Regions from separate parts of the Homo sapiens genome. Here region 2 is linked to region 1. Evidence: promoter capture Hi-C in human tissues and cell types (Jung and others, 2019). All regions are on one chromosome and are shown on one strand. Each heading gives the region's core, a stretch centred on a gene start or on the middle of the fragment in contact. The rest is flanking DNA. Distances are from core to core; before and after follow the strand shown. Region 1 holds the start of SMC1B (structural maintenance of chromosomes 1B). Region 2 overlaps SMC1B (structural maintenance of chromosomes 1B).

Evidence for each region. The method cuts DNA at HindIII sites, captures the fragments that hold promoters and counts their contacts. A contact is called where the count stands out against the background at its distance.
Region 2: a fragment that was not itself captured here is called in contact with the fragment with the promoter of SMC1B in region 1 in 1 of the 25 tissues and cell types used here (IMR-90 fibroblasts).

Annotation. Positions count from the first base shown.
Region 1 is chr22:45,410,129-45,417,356 of GRCh38, reverse strand. It overlaps SMC1B (structural maintenance of chromosomes 1B), which reads left to right and starts at 3,758. Exons shown (of 25, transcript NM_148674.5): 1 at 3,758-3,898. The coding sequence starts at 3,790. It overlaps RIBC2 (RIB43A domain with coiled-coils 2), which reads right to left and starts at 3,664. Exons shown (of 7, transcript NM_015653.5): 1 at 3,342-3,664; 2 at 2,954-3,035. The coding sequence starts at 3,470. RefSeq lists an enhancer at 2,842-3,675. The HindIII fragment of the contact is 17,180 bases long and covers 1-7,228 here.
Region 2 is chr22:45,362,172-45,369,399 of GRCh38, reverse strand. It overlaps SMC1B (structural maintenance of chromosomes 1B), which reads left to right. Exons shown (of 25, transcript NM_148674.5): 16 at 6,374-6,515. Among named protein-coding and RNA genes, the nearest start is that of SMC1B, 48 kb to the left of the region's middle. The HindIII fragment of the contact is 7,660 bases long and covers 1-6,559 here.

The DNA.
Region 1 (7,228 bases), core at 2,509-5,008:
ATACAACCCTCCAAAAAAGTAACACAGCCATTAAAGGATTAGTATCCTGAATATACAAAGAGTACCTACAAATCAATTAAAAAAACCCCAAAACCCCAACCCAATAAATGGGCAAAGTGTAGGAACGGCCAGGCAGATCACTATAAAGAAACCTGAGGCTGGGTGTGGTGGCTCACACCTGTAATCCCAACACTTTGGGAGCCCGAGGTGGGCGGATCACCTGAGATCAGGAGTATAAGACCAGCCTGACCAACATGGTGAAACCCTGTCTCTACTAAAAATTCAAAATTAGCCGGGCGTGGTGGCAGGAGCCTGTAGTCCCAGCTACTCGGGAGGCTGAGGCAAAAGAATCGCTTGAACCCAGGAGGCAGAGGTTGCTACGAGCCAAGATCACGCCGCTGCATTCCAGGCTGGGTTACAGAATGAGACTCTGTCTCAAAAAAAAAAAAAAAAAAAACCTGAGTAATCAATACAATTATGAAAGGATGATCACCCATACAAGGTGGGAAACATCCAATGAATCGAAGGCAAAATATTTAAAATGCTAATAATGGCACACATTAGTAAGGATGTGGGGAAACAAGATCTCTCATTTGCGGCCAGGCATGGTGGCTCACGCCTGTAATCCCAGCACTTTGGGAGGCCGAGGTGGGCGGATCACAAGGTCAAGAGATAGAGCTTATCCTGGCCAAGATGGTGAAACCCCGTCTCTACTAAAAATACAAAAATTAGCTGGGCTTGGTGGCACGTGCCTATAGTCACAGCTACTTGGGAGGCTGAGGCAGGAGAATCGCTTGAACCCGGGAGGCAGAGGTTGCAGTGAGCCGAGATCGCTCCACTGAACTCCAGCCTGGTGACAGAGCAAGACTCCATCTCAAAAACAAAACAAAACAAAACAAAAACCTCTCATTTGCTGCTTGTAGGAGTGTAACTTGGTACACTTACAACGAAACAATTTTTCAATATCCCATAAAACTACCTTTGATCCATCAATTCCACTTCTAGTTATCCCTTTCACATGTGCTAGGGACACAATTCTTGGACAGTCATTGCAGCAGTGTCCACAATGACAAAACAACTGAAAAAAAAAAATCTAAACCAGCCATCAGTATGGGAATGGATGAAGAAACTGTAGTTAATTCATATAACAAAATGCCATAAAACAATTAAAATGAATACTCTCTATATGTAAATCACTGATTAATTTCAAAAATACAAGCCTGGATGAAAGAAAAGCATACTGCAAATGGATCTATTCAATAGGATACCATTTACATAAATTTTAAAAACACATAAAAACAATTTTATATTGTTATGAATACATACATAAATAGTACAAGCATAAATAGTGCGTGGGGGCTGGGCCTGGTGGCTCATGCCTGTAATCCCAACACTTTGGGAGGCAGAGGCGGGAAGATCACCTGAGGTCAGGAGTTCGAGACCAGCCTGGCCAACATGGTGAAACCTCGTCTCTACTAAAAATACAAAAATCAGCCCAGCATGGTGGTGTGCACCTGTAATCCCAGCTACTCGGGAAGCTGAGACAGGAGAATTGCTTGAACCCAGGAGGCGGAGGTTGCGGTGAGCTGAGATCGCGCCACAGCTCTCCAGCCTGGAAGACAGAGCAAGACTCCATCTCAAAAGAAAATAGAAAAAAAAGCATGGGAATGATAAACACTTCTGAGGAGAAAGGAGGGGAAAATTAAGAGGTAGGGGGCAGGGCAGTGTTGTTATATATATATATATATATATACACATATATAAAAAACACAATTCTCAAAAAACACTGAAGATATCTGAAGCCAATCTGGCAAAATGTTAACATCTAGTCTGATGGTGGGTACATATGTACCTGTCACATTGTTTTTGTAAGATTGAATTACCTCATAACTAAAAATATTAATAAAAAAGATAAAATGTTTAGAACATACAGAACAGTATAAAGGAGAAAATAAAGTTTACTCATAATTCTATCCCTCCAACATTACCCTGCTAACATTTTGGCATATTTCCTCTCTTCTTCTTCTGAGCATATTTTAAAATATTTTAAAAACATAACAGCCCATTGTATGTACAATTTTGTATCCTGCTTTTTTTTCTATTATAAAAATCTTTATGGTGTTTAAAAACACTGAAATTTCTTTTTTTTTTTTTTTTCAATTTATTTTTTGTAGAGATGGGGTCTCGCTTTGTTGCCCAGGCAAGTCTGGAGCTCCTGGTCTCAAGTGATCCTCTAGTTTTAGCCTCTCAAAGTGTGAAATTTCAACAATTGTTGAAATTGTTGGACACGATAGGGGAAAATAAGTTGTATTTGAAGTGGAATAATAATACCTTGAATAACAGTATTCAAGGTACTTGAATACTATGATTTGAATCATGTCTGTCTCTGAGTCAGCTTGAGGGTGTGAGCCCGGACATATGTGTTGTCTGGTATAAACAGCTGTCCTTCATAGACGGTCTTAAACTTTTGAGCAGAGCAAGTGAGTGTGTGTGTGTGTCTTTCTGTGTTTAAGGCTTTTCCTATCCAGTTTTTTAAGAAAATGAAGGAAAACATACATATACCCTTAAAATCTATTTCTTATAATCCACATTCGAATTCAATAGCTGTTTTTAAGAGAAGAATCAGTGCATTAAGTTAACTGGGCACAAGAAATTGTGAAATTTAAAAGGAAGAAGAGTGTGAAAATGACAACTTTTTATATATGTGAAGAAAGGAGGGCTGGGTACCGTGGCTCATGCCTGTAGTTCCAGCACTTTGGGAGACTGACGTGGGAGGATCACTTGCACGCAGGAGTTCCAGACCAGCCTGGGCAACATAGTGAGACCCTATCTCTATTAAATAAAAAAAATAAAAAATAAAAAAAAAAAGGCGGGGCAGGGGGACGGTGGGGAAGACTGGAGTCTAAAGCCACACAATCCTAAACCAATAGATAAGCATTCAGGAAATGCTCACCAAAGGTTTCATGTCTAGCTTTTTCAGTAGCTTCTTTTATCTTCTGGTCATGAACTTGAACATCCCAGGCTTCAGTGTCTCCCTATAAATGGAAAAACAGAGGAGAAGGGTTAGAGCCAGATCATTTTATTCAGTAATAACAATCCTACTTATTATTATTTTTAATCTCTGCCCCACTGTAAACGAGTTGTAGAAAATCTGGCTCAGGGGAGGAGAACCGTTGGTGACTCCAGGCGAGCTCGAGAGGGAGCATTATTGGCCCTGCAGGAGGCCGTTTGCTGCCTCCTGGCTCAGATGTTTCATCCTAGAACTCATCTCCTTTCCCCCTCCACGCAGCCCCTCGCCCGCATCTGCCGCTCTAACCCCGTCCCGGCCCCTGCCCTTTCACCCCAATTATCCTGTTTCTGGCGTTGAAGACCCGCTTCTGCCTGCACAGCTCCGCGTGCCTCCTCTTTGCCAGGTTGGCGTCCTGCCGCAAGTCCCTGGGCAGCGCCACCGCCATGGTCTGGGAACCCATGGAAAGCCTAAGGGGTTTTTAGAACACGCAGGATCAGGAGAACAGGCGACGAAAATAAGGAAGCTGTAGCGCAGGCAAGGTCGGCTCCTTCGGTCGGGCAGGGGAAAGACAAGCCTTTAGCGCAGTTTTCCGTCGGGCTCCCAGTGACGCCGCAGAGGTACAGACGCTCCCGCTCTCTCGGAAATGTCAACAACTCGTTGCTAAGGAACGGCTCCGCGCTTGCCGCGTCTCGCTCTCTTCTCGCGACACTTGGCGAATCCCTTCCCGCGCTTTTTCCGCGGGCGCTTGATAACGCGGGTGAGGCGTGGAGGGCGGCGCCATGGCCCACCTGGAGCTGCTGCTTGTGGAAAATTTCAAGTCGTGGCGGGGCCGCCAGGTCATTGGCCCCTTCCGGAGGTTCACCTGCATCATCGGCCCCAACGGCTCTGGTAACTGAGCAGCTCAGGGCGCCACCGGAGCGCCTCCGCCGTCCCAGGCGTCCAGGCCACACGTGGCCTGTGGGGTGTGGGCGTCTGCCGCGGGCGCCTGGCCGGCCTTCCCCTTCCAGTCCCGGAGCCTGACCGCGACCGGATCCCGGCCTGGCCCTGGCCCAGCCCCTGCCCATCACCCCACCTCAGCCCCGGTCCTCGCCGTCCACCTCAGGGGTCCCGACCCTTGTCCCTCCGCCCCACCTCGGAGGTCCTGACCCTTCCACTCGGCCCCGCCTCGGGCCCCGCTCTCGCCCTCCACCTCCTGGCTCCCGACCCTCCTCCGACACCCTGAGGGACCCCACCCCACCTCAGCTCCGGCCCTCGCCCTTCATCTCAGGGGCTCCCAACCCTCGCCCCCCACCCTGGGGGTCCTGACGCTTCCTCTCCGCCCCGGTCCCGCCCTGGGCCCTGTTCTCTGCCCTCACTCCTGCTTCGGGGACTGCTCTTGCCCTTGGCCCTGGTCACTCGCGTCCCTTTTCCCTTCTCATCCGAAGTTGAAGTGAGAGGGAGCTGTCGAGGAGGTAATGGGTTCCAAGCAGCCAGAACCACCATTTGGATCCAAGGGAGCTTTGACCCAGGAATGTAGTGATGATGACCCAGTTTACTGAGCTTTTCCTAAGTTCCTGGCGACACCGTCTTTGGTTAGCCATGGCGCATGGCTGCTCTCCCCATTTTATAGTTGGGGAAACTGAGGTCTGGAGAGGCCAGAGGACCTGCGGAGGTCTCTACTAATAATACCAAAATTAGCTGGGTGTGGTGGCACACGCCTGTAATCCCAACTACTCTGGAGGCTGAGGCGGGAGAATCGCTTGAACCTGGGAGGTGGAAGTTGCAGTGAGCCAAGGACACGCCATTGCACTCCAGCCTGGCAACACAGTGCGACTCTCGTCTCAAAAAAAAAAAAAAAAAAAAAAAAAAGGCTGGGCGCGGTGGCTCACACCTGTAATTCCAGCACTTTAGGAGGCCGAGGCGGGTGGATCATGAGATCAGGAGTTCGAGACCAGCCTGACCAACATGGTGAAGCCCTGTCTCTACTAAAAATACAAAAATTAATCGGGTGTGGTGACATGCACCTGTAATCCCGGCTACTGAGGAGGCTGAGGCAGGAGAATCGCTTGAACCCGGGAGGCAGAGGTTGCAGTGAGCCAAGATAGCACCACCGCACTCCAGCCTGGGTAACAAGAGCGAGACTTCGACTCTAAAATAAAATAAAATAAGATAAATATAAAATAAAATTGGCCGGGCGCCGTGGCTCATGCCTATAATCCCAGCACTTTGGGAGGCCGAGGCGGGCGGATCACCTTAGGTCAGGAGTTAGAAACCAGCCTGGCCAACATAGTGAAACCCCTGTCTGTACTAAAAATACAAAAATTAGCTGGGGGTGGTGTCACGTGCCTGTAATACCAGCTACTTGGGAGACTGAGGCAGGAGAATCACTTGAACCCGGGAGGCGGAGGTTGCAGTGAGCCAAGACTGTGCCACTGCATTCCAGCCTGGGCGACAGAGCAAGACTCTGTCTCAACAAAAAAATAAGGCCTGACATGGTGGCCCACACCTGTAATTCCATCACTTTGGGAGGCTGAGGCAGGCAGATCACTGGAGGTAGGGGTTCAAGACCAGCCTGGCCAACATGATGAAACCCCATCTGTACTAAAAATACAAAAAAGCCTGGCGTGGTGGCGCACGCCTGTAGTCCCAGCTACTCAGGGGACTGAGGCAGGAGAATCGCTTGAACCTGGGAGGCAGAGGCTGCAGTGAGCTGACATCACGCCACTGCACTCCAGCCTGGGCAACAACAGAACAAGACTGCATCTCAAAAATAAATAAGTAAAAATAAATAAATAAATAAAATGCACCGTTCAGTGGTTTTTAGTATATTCAAAAGTTGTGCAACCATCATCACCATCTACTTCCAAAACATTTTCATTGCCCCCAAAGAAACCTTGTACTCATTAGCAATCACTCCCTGTTATTTCCTCTCCACCTAGCTCCTGGTATCTACTAATTCACTTTCTGTCTCTATGGATTTACCTATTTGGGACATTTCGTATAAATAGAATCAGACAATATATGGCCTTTTGTGTCTGACTTCTTTCACTTAGCATAATGTTTTTCAGATTCATCTATGTTGCTCCTTGTATTAGTACTTATTTCCTTCTTATTTTCAAATAATATTTCACTGTATAGATATACTACATTTTGTTTATCCATCAGTTGATAGTTTGGGTTGTTGCCACTTTGTGGTATGTTATGCTGCCTTGACTCTCTTGACAGACTATAACCTTTATTAGGCAGGGACAATATTAATGAAATTTAATGGAATAAATGGATTTGGATGAGAAGTATTTATTTTAGGCAGATTTAAATAAGGATTGACTTATTGATTTTAAAAGTTTATGTTTAGTTTTGTTACTTAATACTTAAATTACTTAATAATTTAATTCAGTGAATGTTTATCTTGTCCATATGCACTGTCTTACAATAGCCCTCAATGTGCAGATTATCCATTAACCCAAAAAAGCCGTTTCATACCTGTTAGTTGACTGAGACTCAGCTAAATAAATTTGCAGCAATTTATTTCTAGTTCTTTTTAGAAAGACCCTAAACCTCTAAAACTAAGCCATATTTCCGGTGGCTGATAGTATTCCTTTGCTTTGTTTATGTTACTTTCCTAGTTTTGGCATTGAAAATTAATTAATTATTTCTTTTGTCTTGAGATGGAGTCTTGCTCTCTTGCCCAGGCTGGAGTACAGTGGTGTAATATCAGCTCACTGCAACCTCTGCCTTCTGGATCCAAGTGATTCTTCTGCCTCAGCCTCCCGAGTAGCTGGGATTACAGGCGCACGCCACCACAGCTGGCTAATTTTTTGTATTTTAGTAGAGACGGGGTTTCACCATGTTGGTCAGGCTGGTCTCGAACCCCTGACCTCGGGTGATCTTCCTGCCTCGGCCTCCCAAAGTGCTGGGATTACAGGTGTGAGCTGCTGCGCCCAGCCTGAAAATTTAAACTGCTTTGTGGATATAGGGGAAGGGATGTGAAAAGGAGAAATAATAGTGATGGTGACAGCTGCATTGACATTGCACCTTGGAAATTGTCTTAGAGAAAATTATGGGCCAATGATTGGGTAACAGATTTAACATTGGGGTTAGGAATGCCCACAACTACCCTTAGGTTCAGTAATTTGTTGGGAAAACTCACAGGATTCTACATATAGTTTGACTCAATACTATTATTTATTACAGTGAAAAAATACAAAGCGAACTCAGCAAAGGGAAAGGATATATGAG
Region 2 (7,228 bases), core at 1,480-3,979, 47 kb after region 1:
AATAGGCCAGGTGCAGTGGCTCATGCCTGTAATCCCAGCACTTTGGGAGGCCGAGGCAGGCGGATCATGAGGTCAGGAGATAGAGACCATCCTGGCTACCACGGTGAAACCCCGTCTCTACTAAAAATACAAAAAATTAGCTGGGCATGGTGGCAGGCGCCTGTAGTCCCAGCTACTCGGAAGGCTGAGGCAGGAGAATGGCATGAACCTGGGAGGTGGAGCTTGCAGTGAGCCGAGATCGTGCCACTGCACTTAGCCTGGGCGACAGAGCAAGATTCCGTCTCAAAAAAAAAAACAAAAGAATGAGACAATAATTTGCTTGTCTGTAAATATTCATATATGTAGATAGTAAGTGGTAATTTTCAAGAAATAATATATTACCAAAAATTATCTCAAGATAGAAAAATCTAAGATGGCCAGTTACAATAGGAAGAGAAAGTAAAAAGGCTTCCTACCCACCCCATTGCCAAATACACCAGGTACAGATAGCTTCACAGGTGAATTATCTCAGCAGACTTTAAAGGCACATGTAACTTCAGTGTTTAATGTCTAAACAGATGTTCAATATTAAAACTGTTTCAGCCCAGGTGTGGTGGCTCACGCCTGTAATTCCAACACTTTGGGAGGCCGACCGAGGCAGGTGGGTCATGAGGTCAGGAGTTCAAGACCAGCCTGGCCAAGATGGTAAAACCCCATCACTACTAAAAATACAAAAATTAGCCAGGCGTGGTGGTGGGTGCCTGTAATCCCAGCTCCTTTGGAGGCTGAGGCAGAGAATTGCTTGAACCCAGGAGGCAGAAATTGCAGTGAGCCGAGATCATGCCAGTGCACTCCAGCCTGGGTGACAGAGCGAGACTCGGTCTCAGAAAAAAAAAAAAAAAACTATTTCAGAATGTAGAAGAGGAAAAAATGCATCTTTTTATGAAAGGAACATAATACTGATTCCAAAATTCAAAAAAGTATACATACAATAAGAAACTGTAAATCAATGTCACCTATAAATAACCAAGTAAAACAAGGTTAAATACAAATCAGCAGTACAACAACAAAATAATGTACCATTATCTAGTGGGCTTTATATCAGAACTATAAGGATGGTTCTGTATCAGGAAATCTATTGTTTAATTCACCATATTAAGAAAGAATCATATGATCAACTCTAAGGATGATGAAAAAACACTTGACAAAATTCAGCATTTATTCTTGGTTGAATATTCTTAAGATGTGAATAGTTAAGATACCTATGATATGAAAAAATACATCTCAGAAATCAGCATTGTGGTTTCATGGTTTCACTTCCTAGTAATGTCAGAAATTAGAGATACTCAGTATCACTATTATCTAATATTATTCTAGAGATACTAGTCAATAAAGTTAGACAAGAAAAATAAAGTATACAAATTTGGCAGTGACATCACCAAAATGTCAGAATAGAATCAAGCTGGCTTCACTGCTTCCCAGAGAAAACCATAAACAAATATACAGTGCTGAGATTGTCACCAGCAATATCCCAGAATTCAAAAACAAGAATGAGACAGTTCCTGAAGCCACAGAGAAGTGAAAAATCTTGCAGACAATAAGAGAATTGGACTTACATCTGTGGTGCCCTTATCCCAATATGTCAGGCACCAAGTGTGCAGAAAAATTTCCCCTGACTCGTGGTTACTACCCTGGAAAGAGTGAGATCAAGGTGGACAACCAGCTTCCTCACCATCTTGGGTTCCCTGGCAAGGGGCCTGTCCCTGCCTCAGCCCATAGGAAGTATCACTGAAGGGAGAAAAGTTCCTGAGGACCGACAGACAAAGCAGTGAAGCAGGACTAGCATCCCCAGTCCAGGAAACTCTGCTGTGTAACTTGGTCAAAGGAGACACCAAATTAGAGTGGCTGTTCAGCAGCATCACACAGCAACACCACACAGAGGTAGGTTCCATAGGTCCCCTGGGCACCAGCCTGTAGCCAGCCTTCCCAAATTGTCAGGATATCCCCTTTAGGATCTCCCCCATGCAAGATAGGCAACGCTCCAAAGTTTGCTGGAGCTGAAGCAAACCTGAGCTTAAGGCATCACCTGGTGCCAAAAAGCAGGCAGTGAGCCTATCAGCGGGGAAAAAAGAAAAGGTACCCAACAGGTATATTGCAAATTTCTAAGCAAACATACCAAATAAAAAAACAAAAACAAGCCAGACAGAGATAATCCTTTAATGTGAAGAGATAGATGTACATCCACAAGAAACAATAGCAAACGGGGAACCATGACCTCCCAAAACAGACAAAGCAAGGAGCCAGTAACTGAGCCTAGTGAGACTAGTAGGCAAGCTCTCTGATCAAGAACTTAAAATAGAAGTTTTAAGGAAACTTGGTGATCTCCAAAATAACAGAAAAGCAACTCAGAAATTTATCGGAGAAGCTTAACAAAGAGATTGAAATGCTGGAACTGATAAATACATTTGCTGAACTGGAAAATTCCTTAGAGGCTGTTAACAGCAGAATGGATCAAGCAGAGGAAAGAATCAGTAAGCCTGAAGATAGGCTACAGGAAAAGACAGAAGAGAAAAAAAGAATGAAAGGAATGAAGAATGCCTACAAGATATAGAAAATTATCTCAAGAGCAAATCTAAGAATTATCTGTGGCTGAGTGCAGCGGCTTATGCATGTAATCCCAGCACTTAGTTTTTTGGAGTTTTGCCACGTTGGCCAGGCTAGTCTCAAACTCCTGACCTCAGGTGATCCATGCACCTCGGCCTCCCAAAGTGCTGGGATTACAGGTGTGAGCCACCACACCCAGCCAGATTTTACTTAATGTATTTTCAAGCCTTGTTATTAGGTGCATACATATTTGGGATCACTGTCTTTTTGATGAATTAATTCATCATCATAAAATGCCCCCTCTTTAACCTTGTCATATTTCTTCTTCTGAGGTAAACTTTGAACTTGTCTAGTTATATGACTTTAAGTAACATTTATATACTGACATTCCCAAAATTTGTACCTTTAGCCTGGACCTCTTATTTAGACTTGCTTTCTAAATAATTCTGCCTATTACAATGTTTATTGAGGTTCTCACAAAAATCCAACTGGAGGCTGGACATGGTAGCTGACACCTGTAATCCTAACAATCTGGGAGCTCGAGGCAGGCGGATCACCTGAGCTCAGGAGTTTGAGACCAGCCTGGGCAACATGGCGAAACATCATCTCTACTAAAAATACAAAAATTAGCTGGGCGTGGTGGCACATGCCTGTAGTCCCAGCTACTCAGGAGGTTGAGGCAAGAGAATTGCTTGAACCTGGGAGGCAGAAGTTGCAGTGAGCCAAGATCGTTCCACCAGATTCCAGCCTAGGTGACAGAGGGAGACTCTGTCTCAAAAACAAACAAACAAACAAACAAACCCAAAAAACAACCAAAATGGAATTCTAATTGAGATTGCATTGGATTGATAGATTTGTGGAGAATTGATACCTTCAAAATATTGTCATCCCATCTAAAAACATAGAATGTCTCTCCATTTATTCTAATCATCTATATCCTTTATTAGAATTTTGGAGTTTTTTCCCATAGAGATCTATGTTTTCTTATTAATTTCTAGATAATTATAGGGTTTATTTTTTTCTTGTGAATAGTATGTGTTTTTATGATGCTTTTGCTAGTTGGTTTCTACTAGTGTAGAAAAATAATCTCAAATTTTATTTTATCTTTATTAATTCAGGGTCTCACTCTGTCAACCCAGGCTGGAGTGCAGTGGCACAATCTTGGCTCACTGCTACCTCTGCCTCCTGGGCTCAAGTGATCTTCCTACCTCAGCCTCCCAAGTAGCTGGGACCACAGGTGTGTGCCAACATGCCCAGCTAATTTTTGTATTTTTTGTAGAGATGGGGTTTTGCCATGTTGCCCAGGCTGGTCTTCAATTCCTGGGATCAAGCGATCTGCCAACCTCAGCCTTCCAAAGTGCCCGGGATTACAGGTGTGAGCCACCATGCTCGGCCTAATCTCAAATTTTAGATTGATCTAACATCTAGTAACTTTGCTAAATCCTCTGTTACTTCTAGTGGCTTATTCACTGTGTATTCTAGGTACTGAGTTTGTGATGTCTGTGATATCCAGTTAGAGGTATAGAATGGGTAGCTGAATACACAAGTTAGGAGTTCAAAGGCGAGGCCCAGGCTAGAGGTATAAATTTTGGGAATGTCCGTATATAAATGGCACTTGAAGTCATGTAACTACACAAGAGCAACAACGGAATGAATGTGGATAGAAAGGAGAAGAGATCCGGCCGGGTGCGGTGGCTCATGCCTGTAATCCCAGCACTTTGGGAGGCTGAGGTGGGCGGATCACGAGGTCAGGCGATCGAGACCATCCTGGCTAACACGGTGAAACCATGTCTCTACTAAAAATACAAAAAATTAGCCGGGCGTGGTGGCAGGTGCCTGTAGTCCCAGCTACTTGGGAGGCTGAGGCAGCAGAATGGCGTGAACCCGGGAAGCGGAGCTTGCAGTGAGCCGAGATCGTGCCACTGCTCTCCAGCCTGGGCAACAGAGCGAGACTCCATCTCAAAAAAAAAAAAAAAAAAAAAAAAAAAAAAAGGAAAAGAGATCCTACAAGATGTTAGCAAGTCGAAGAGATGAGAAAGAACCATTAAAAGAGCAGCTAGTTGGGGGAAAGGAAAGCCAGGGTAATGTGACACCCCAAAGCCAAGTGAAGAAGCGTTCCACTTCTACATCATCTGTATGTCTGCCTCCTGCAGCACAAATAAATTTCTTAAGCTCTCCTACAGGCAGTGTGGTCACGGATTAAGAGCAGGGATTCTGTTGTCCCCCTGTCTGAGTGTGTCATCCCTGGCTCTACCACTAAGTGGGTAGCCTTGGGCAAGTTGCTTAGCTCTCTGTTCCTTGGTCTTCTCATCTGTTAAATAAAGATGATAATATTACTGACCTAGTAGAGTTTTAAAACTTGTAAGTTAATTCATGTAAAAACTTTTATAACACTGTCAGGTATATAGTAACCTCTCATTAAATAGTTATTAATGTTTTAATTGTTATAGTTGTTTTTATATTAGCAGTATCTAGCACAATAGCTGTTAGTACTTAAAAATGTTTCTCGAACAAATGATTCTGTTAGCAGGGTGTGGTGGGGGGGCAGGGTGAGCATGGAAAGGATGAGCTACAGTTGACAATGGAATTCTTTATGAGGAGTTTATGAAGCTGGCAAAGTAGGAATGAACGTTCCCAAGTTTGGTGTTTATATAAGAATAGTTATTTGGGCCAGGCGCGGTGGCTCATGCCTGTAATTCCAGCACTTTGGGAGGCAGAGGCAGGTGGATCACTTGAGGTCAGGAGTTTGAGACCAGCCTGGCCAACATGGCGAAACCCTGTCTCTATTAAAAATACAAAAATTAGCCGGGCATGGTAGCACACACCTGTAATCCCAGCTACTAGGAAGGCTGAGGCAGGAGAATTGTTTGAACCCAGGGGGCGGAGGTTGCAGTGAGCTGAGATCGCATCACTGCATTCCAGCCTGAGCAACAGAGTGAGACTCCATCTCAAAAAAAAAAAATAGTTATTTGAAAAGACTAAATAATAAGAATAAACACATAAAGAAAAAGAGGAGAGGAAATCTGTAGATTATAAAAGATTTAAGAAACATCATCTGTATGCAATGTGTGGATACTGATTCAAACAACCAATTTTTCTTTTTTAAAAAAGAATTTTTTTTGTATCTGCTTTTGTTTTTTTGAGATGGAGTCTCACTTTGTCACCCAGGCTGGAGTGCAGTGGTGTGATCTCAACTCACTGCAACCTCCCAGGTTCAAGCAGTTCTTACCACCTCAGCTTACTGAGTAGCTGGGACTGTAGGTACACGCCACCAAGCCTGGATAATTGTTGTATTTTTAGTACAGGTGGGGTTTCACCATGTTGGCCAGGCTGGTCTCGAACTCCTGACCTCAAGTGATGTGCCACCTTGGCCTCCCAAAGTGCCGGGATTACAGGCATGAGCCACTGCGCCCAGAATAAAAGAAAATTTTTAAAAAGGAAATTTGGCAATGACAGCAATTTGATATTAATGAATTATATTTTAGCCATAATACTTTATGAGTTAAAAGTCATTTCACTTCTAGAGATACATACAAAAATACTTACAGGTGAAATTACATCATGTCTAGAACTTGCTTCAAATAAGCCAGTGGTGGGAGGGTCAATTAGTGGAGTTATCAATGAAACAAGAATGACCATGAATTGATAATTATTAAGTTGGGTGACAGCTACTTGGGAGTTCATTATAGTATTCCTTTTACTTTTATATTTGTTTGAAATTTCCCATAAGAAAAAAGAAGGAATCAAAGTTTTCTGTTTACACTTGTAATGCTTGACTTTATTATACTAGATTAGAATTTGAAAAACAAAAAACTCGGCTTAATGTTCAACTTGAGTATAGTCGCAGTCACCTTAAGAAGAAACTGAATAAGATCAACACATTAAAAGAAACTATCCAGAAAGGTAGTGAAGATATTGATCACCTAAAGAAGGTAATTAATAATGGGTAGCTGAAGTGCCTCTTCATTGAAATTATGACTTCCTTCATGTGGTAAACCTTTTGTGCGCTCCTGAAGGGTCCTGTTAGTGAAGGGGTTGGGGACAGATTTAAGAAATACTTAAAGTAAAATCAGCAGAGCTTTATGAATTACTGGATGTCAACATGGGAGGAAGGGCAAGGGGATGTCACAGATGACTCCTTAGTTCTAACTGGGGTGATTGGTGAATGGGAGCAGCAGGTTAAGGAGAGAAAATTCTGGACCTGTGGAGCTTGAGTTGCCTATGTGATGTCTAGATGGCAATTTCCAGCAGGCTGTTAAACAGTAGATAATGGGAGAAGTCTAGGCTGAAGATACAGATTTGGGAGTTGCTGGTTTATGGGAGTAAACTGAAACCACATGAGAATGGTTGAGACTCCCTAGCAGGGAGGTAGGCAGTGAAGAGCAGTGGAGCAGCGATGGGATCTGGAAGGTGGTCACTTAGCTTATGAGGAGAGTCAAAAGAGGTGGTATCACAGAAGCCCCAGAGTTTCAGGAAGGAGGAAATGATCAAGGCTGTCAAAAACGTAAAAGTCTGGAAAATGTTTAATTGACAGAGATCATGATAGCAGAAACACTCTCATTGGAGAATGGGAACAGAAGTCAGTGAGCTGAGGAATGAATCCAAAATAAGGACAAAAAAACAAAAACAAAATGAAGGATAAAGG